2 separate regions of the Homo sapiens genome follow, and region 1 is linked to region 2. Evidence: promoter capture Hi-C in 16 types of primary human blood cells and fetal thymus (Javierre and others, 2016). All regions are on one chromosome and are shown on one strand. Each heading gives the region's core, a stretch centred on a gene start or on the middle of the fragment in contact. The rest is flanking DNA. Distances are from core to core; before and after follow the strand shown.

The links. The method cuts DNA at HindIII sites, captures the fragments that hold promoters and counts their contacts. A CHiCAGO score of 5 or more calls a contact.
Region 1: a fragment that was not itself captured here is called in contact with the fragment with the promoter of BLOC1S4 in region 2 in 7 of 17 cell types (naive CD8 T cells, naive CD4 T cells, fetal thymus and 4 more); the score reaches 11.2 in naive CD8 T cells.

The regions. Positions count from the first base shown.
Region 1 is chr4:6,661,050-6,664,292 of GRCh38, reverse strand. No RefSeq gene overlaps it. Among named protein-coding and RNA genes, the nearest start is that of LINC02482, 11 kb to the left of the region's middle. The HindIII fragment of the contact is 956 bases long and covers 773-1,728 here.
Region 2 is chr4:6,714,514-6,717,895 of GRCh38, reverse strand. It overlaps BLOC1S4 (biogenesis of lysosomal organelles complex 1 subunit 4), which reads right to left and starts at 1,722. Exons shown (of 1, transcript NM_018366.3): 1 at 232-1,722. The coding sequence starts at 1,686. The coding sequence ends at 1,033. RefSeq lists enhancers at 681-1,320, 1,803-2,002 and a silencer at 1,473-1,522. The HindIII fragment of the contact is 17,705 bases long and covers 1-3,382 here.

The DNA of each region.
Region 1 (3,243 bases), core at 1-2,500, 53 kb after region 2:
GGAGCTCCCCGAGCTCTGGCTTTACCAGGTCAAGGCCCCTGTCACGAGGCGCGCGCCCTCAGGAGGCGACAGGGGGGCGACCCCCGCTATGGCTTCAGGGCCCCACCCGGAGGCGAACATTCCCGGCTCTGGACGAGCACGGCACGCAGGACCCGGAACCCAGGGTCCCGGGCGCACCCGCCTCGCGGTCCCCTTCCGCATGTCCGCGCCCCCTCGCTCCAGGCCCAGGGTCGGCCAGGAGGGAACCCCGGCCGCAGGCTCAGGGAGGCTTGGGGCCGGGGACGGACGGCGCCGTGGGGCCCGGCGGCCAGCGGCCAGGGCGACTGTCCCACGCGCGGCTGCTTTCCGGGACTTGAGCTGGAAGAAAAAAATACGGACTCCTTAGAGGCCAAATAGGAAAAAGAATAAGCAGGTAACCCAAGCATAGGAGCGTTCAAGCTAGCCTTGGCTCTAACGGTGTCTACAAACCTTGGTGAACTTGAGCAGGCGACAGTCTAGAGCCTCAGAACGTTGGCAGCTATGGAGGACACATGGCTCAGACTGCCCTTTAGGAATGAAGGTCTTATTCCAGCTGCTGAGACAGCCCCAAGCCAGCAGCCATCTTCAGAGATTGTCACCCCATCCTTCCTGGGGCAGCTGCATTTGGTGATTGATCTCTGCAGAGGTAGAAAGCCCAGTCCTCTCACCCCAACGTGGGGAGGGCTCTGAAGAGCCATCAAACCGTCCTAGTTACCCATTGCTGCATAACACATTTTCGCAAAACTTAAAAGCTTAAAACAAACATTTATTACCTTACAGTTTCCATGGGTCAGGGAGCTGCGCAGGGCTTAGCTGGGTGCCTCTGGCTCAAGGTCTCTGGAGGTTGCAGTCAAGATGTTGGCTGGGCTACTGTAGTTTGAAAGCTCAACTGGGATGGTGAGGGGCGACCTTTTCGAAAATCAAGCCTGTGATTGTTGCCAGTCCTTGGTCCCAAACCGCACAGCCTTTACACTGGGTTGCTTCACAGCACGGTGTCTGCTATACCCGGGCTGAGCAATGCTGAGAGGGAGAGAGGGCGTACACGGTGGAAGCCAGGACATCCCACCGCTTCTGCAGAATTCTCCACTAGAAGCAAGTCAATAACTCTGGCCCACTCTCAAAACAGAGATTCTACAAAGACCTGAATGCCAGGTGGCAGGGATTGCTGAGGCCCATCTTAGAGGCTGCCTGTCACACCGTCTTCAGAACTCCCTAGAGAGTTGGCTGAAGCGTCTGCTGAACCTTCATCATAGCTAGACTTCTCCTTCGCCCCATCCTGGTTCTTTTCCTTCCCTCCCACAGGGGTGGATCCTAAGAGCACTCACTAATAACCTTCCTAACTAAATGACATTTCAGAGAATGCTTTGCTGCAACAGAAATCTACCCAGGGATCAGCCAACTGTGGCCCACTGACATAATATCAACTCATTTAATTTTCCTGATATCCCCATGAGGTAGCTACTCTTGAGTATACCCATTTTATAGAAGGGGTAAAGTGAGGTGAAGAGACTTGCGAAACATTACAAAGTGAGTCAGTCGGCAGTGGACCGGAGATTCAGCTGCAGTCTGGGCCACCTCATCCTTACTCCACCTTCCTCCTACATCTTACATGTCTACCAGCAGTACAGTGCCTTTTGTTACCCACCAAACATGTCACCACAGGACATATTTATATGTTTTCTGAAGGTTCCCTGCTCTAAAATGTAAGCTTCATCAGGGCGGTAACACTGTTCTATTTTAGAACAATAGCTGGCATATAAGATGCCCCTCAATAGAGTTACTGCCTGCATGTGTGACACCTGGCACGCTGTCTTTGAATTATTTTGTTGTCTTTACCACCAGGTCTCATGTCTGTATTCCTCCTCCAGGGTCTGGGCGCATCGTGTAGCCAGTGCTTTTGAACACAGGTACCTAGGGCCTGAAGTGTGCCAGTTTCTCTCTTACTCCAACCTCATTTCCATGCCTGGGGATTATCTGTTCTTCCAATTGCAGCTTCACTGAATGCATTATAACCCGCAGTTTACTGCATTTGAGGACAATGAGACAGACACTGTGATCTTCAGAAACATGTTTTATTTTCTTTTTCCTGGTGAAGTTTAAGGGCTTTGGTTCATTTGGATAAAAATAGGTTTTTAGGTTTTACATTTTTACAAGCAACAACCATTATTACATGTGGGTGTGCTGTTTTTGTTTTGTTGTTTTGTTTTCTGAGACAAGGTCTTGCTCTGTCACCCACAGGCTGGAGTGCAGTGACATGATCTCAGCTCATTGCAGCCTCAACCTCCCAGGCACAAGCGATCCTCCTGCCTCAGCCTCCTGAGTAGCTGGGATACAGGTGAGTGCCACCATGCCTGGCTAATTTTTTTTTTTTTTTTTGTAGAGTGGGGGGTCTCACCATGTTTCTCCAGCTGGTCTCAAACTCCTAGACTCAAGGAATTCTCCCACCTTGGTCTCCCAAAGTGCTGGGATTACAGGCATGAGCCACCACACCCAGCCACATATGGTATTTTAACCTCAAATCCCTGTGGGGTCTATTCAAATGGGCCTAACCAGGTAGGTTATGACCCCGTGAAGGAAGACCAAAGCGCCAGCACCACGATTGCTTCCCAGAGATCTTCAAGGCCCTTTTCAGACTTCTCTTCTTCTACGCCCCACAGGGCCTGAAATGCACTAGGGAGATCCTTCAAGGAAGCTGACCCTAAGTCAAACCACAGACAAAACACAAGAAAGCACTCCATCATATGTAGGTTTCAAGTCAAATTAGACGTAGCTAGTTGTCCAAACTGACCTGCGAAGTCACACAATGTGCACCAAATGACATGATTTAACTTAAGAGGAAAAATCTCATCTGTTCTCACAGAGAAAGTTCTAAACTGCATACAAAACTGTCTTCCACCTCATTTCCCAGGGGCATCTTCCAATGGAACAGGTGGAGCTCCTTCAACAACTCTGTGGTTTGAGGACTGACACAAGTTTCCTGCTTGTCCCAAAGTGTCCAACAGTGATTAGGTCCCATGTGACATAGCAAAATGCACAGAAGCAGGAAAAGTTAAAACTATTGAGAAATTCCAAAAACAAAAAATAAGACCAACCATCTCATCAATAGACAATCGTGATGAAAATTTCTTCTTCTTCGGCTGGGCGTGGTGGCTCACACCTGTAGTCCCAGCACTTTGGGAGGCCGAGGTGGGTGGATCATGAGGTCAAGAGATCAAGACCATGCTG
Region 2 (3,382 bases), core at 473-2,972:
AGATTGCGCCACTGCACTCCAGCCTGGGCGACAGAGCATGACTCCGTCTCAAAAAAAAAAAAAAAAAAAAAAAAGAAAAGAAATATACCATGCTCTGAAATAGAAGCTACAGCTTTTCACATTAGCTCTCTAAAGGAGGTATACTCAAGCCCCTTTTCTTTATCCCACTACTAAAAAAGCACATGAGCAGTACGTCTATTTCAAACACACACAAGGAAATACGTAAAGCTCTTTTCAGAAGGAAATCATTTCCAATAAAACTCAAAATTTCTATTAACATTTAAATTATAAACCAAACATTGGCAACCCACATATATATATACACACACACACACATATGTTTGCTATGGACAAATGAAGACTGTGAGGTCATACTTTCAAATACAACTTTGGAATTAGTCACAAAAAATCAACATATATTCTCAGAAATTGTACCATTTCCTTTGGTCTACAATCCACGCTATAGGAGGTTTAATATAATATTAAATAATGTACCATTTACCCTAAAAGTAGGTTCTAGAAAACTGACTATTAGGATTGAATAACAAGGCTTTAATGGCTCAATTTTCTTATGATTATACAAACATATAAATCTTGAAAAGGTAACGCCATTTAGTAAAATCCATAAAAATAACAGTTTTGCCACAGTGCAGAGAAAAGTTCATTCAGTTTGATTCCCCATGCCCTCGACAAGCAGCTTTCTGATTAGAGCTGGAAGACACAGGCTGGGTGCAGTGGCGACCCCGTAGTCCCAGCTACTGGGGAGGCTGAGGTGGAAGGATCACTTGAGCCCAGGAGTTTCCGAACAGTCTGGGCAACATACCAAGACCCTGTCTCTTTTTTTAAACTTGGAAGACATAAAGTCTATACATTCTACACTGAATCATGAATATACTACGGAGAGTTTGTAGAAAGTAAACTTTAAAATCCCACACTCCAACATCATATATGTCCATAAGCAGGATTTGCAATTCACTTCATACTGGAGGTAAGCACCCCAGCTGGGGTCCTCTTGCCGCAGTGGTCAGGCCGTCAGAGCTGAGGCCTTTCACTGCAACAAGGGAAGTAGTCTTCGGTCCGAAACAGGACGGGGGCTTCGTAGCCGGCTTGCTGTGGCCTCGAGGGAGCAGACTTGCTAAAGAGCGAGGGCACGTTCATCGTGTGCAGGAGCTTCTTGAACGCCCTGGGGAAGGTGCCCAGCTCGGCCTCGGCCTTGGTGACCTGCTCCTCCATCCTGGCCACGCGGCCCCCCACCATCCTCACGAAGGCCTCCAGCCGGTCGATCCTGCTGTAGATGCGCCGCATCTCGGCGGCCTTCGCGTGGATGCGCGGCACGCCCTCGCTGACGACGTGGGACGAGTCGCCGCGAAGCATGTCCAGCATGCCCACGAACTCGTCCACTCTGGTAAGCAGGTCCTCTAGGCTCGCGTCCAGGGCCTCGACCTCGGGCCGCGCCCCGGCCCCGGGCAGCAGGCAGGCGGCGTAGCCCGCAGCGGCGCGGCGAAGCAGCGGCAGGTCGCGGCCCGGCGCGCCGTCCTCCGCGCCCTCGTCCTCCCACGGCCCCGAGGCGCTGCTGTGGCTCTGGGAAACAGTGCCACTGTCCCCGCTCCAGGCGGCGCCCTGCGGCTCGGCCTCTTCCGCGAGCCCCTCCGGCAGCGCTCCGCCATCCGAAAAGCTACCCTCCATGGCCCGCGACCACCCGACTGCGCAGCGCTCGCTTCCGGCCTCCGCGCGCTCACGCTCACGCACCCGCACACGCACGCACGCGCGCTCACGCCTTTGCTTCCGGCGGCCTGCGAGGGCGTCTGTTCACGCGCATCCACCTTTGTTTCCGGCCTCCCAGCGCGCTCACGCTCACGCATGCGCGCTCACGCTCACGCATGCGCGCTGCTGTTTTCTCACGCCCGAACTCACATTCAACCTTTTTTTTCTTTTTTAAGCGAAGGTATAGCAGGAATACAATACAGTGCATACATTTTAAGTGTGCACATTGATGACTTTGTACACATCCATACAACCATGCATCTTCTATCCAGACCAACAGGTAGGACATGTCCAGCACCCATGAACGTCTCCCTCCTGTCCTTCATTTCTTTTTGCTGTTTATAGTAAAATAAATGAGATAAGCAAGACGAAACACAAAAGGGATGGACCTTGACGACTTTGGATGATTTTTAAAGTCCTCAGCTTCGCCTGATTGCAAATGGCGTAAAACTAAGAAATAGTAATAGTTTCCAAGCAAATATCAAATCCAGGGTACTGCCAGAAAAAAACAAAGGTGAAGTTGAGATGTGACGGTTAAATCCTTTAAAATCTCAAAAAAAAAAGCAAAGACGGTGCCTGAGAATACCATTCAGTTAGACTAACAGCTCCTTAAAGAGATTAATGGTGTGGCTCACAGAGTCCATCAGTCAAACCACAAGGCCTCCAGAAGGCTTAAGGCTTGTTCGTCAGTATTAGCAGAAGCCCAAGATAGAGATGGACTTATCTCAAAGGGATTTGTAGGTAGCACTTTTGTTTAACGGAGTGAACCCCGATGAGATTCACAGGAGACCTATAAAGTTTTTTAAAGATAATTATATTGACACAAACATTGCAGATTGGACTGAAAGGAACAGGCCTTTGGATCCCCTCTCCCCAAACTTGTACAAGCAGGAATCAGACTGAGAAAAAGACTCATTGGCAAACACATGCCACATTTCACAAAAAAGGAAGTATAACTCAGGGCATGAAACCAGGAGCCCAGATGGTGGAACTGGGAGTCATGGAGTCCTAGACCTTGAGACTGGATGGCAGAGTTACTGTGGGCTGGCAACTTGTTTGTACTTCCAATTTCCCCCTTTTTGAACAGGAGTGGCAGTGGCTAATCTAGTCGTAGTGGAGCAGAACAGGTCTGTAGTGATTATCCTGTGCCAGCCCCACAACTGTATATTCCAGGCATGGGGGCAGAGAACTTGTCTCCTTAGTTTCAAAAGTCTACAGATCAAGAAGAATTGTACTCTAGGAGCTGAATTTAAGGAACTAAGCTCAGAAAGCCTCATCTACATCTGATCTTATTGAGAAGACAAAATTCTGGACTTAAAGCTGATGTGACAATAGGATAGTAATACCTAAAACTACATGAGATTTAAAAAAATGTAACTTTTGGGGACCTTGGATAGAGGGGAGTGTGGTTAGCACGTTAAAATGGCATGAAGAATTGGTAGTCAGGGGGCAAACTGTGATTGCTAGCCAGCCTTCAAGATGACTCCCAGTGATTTCTTACTCCTGGTATTCTCACTCTTGTGTATTCCCTCTTGTCGAGTATGTACTGGACTTAGTGACTTCATTTGCTCATAATAAACTGAAAAACACAGAAGTGATGATGTATGATTTGGACATT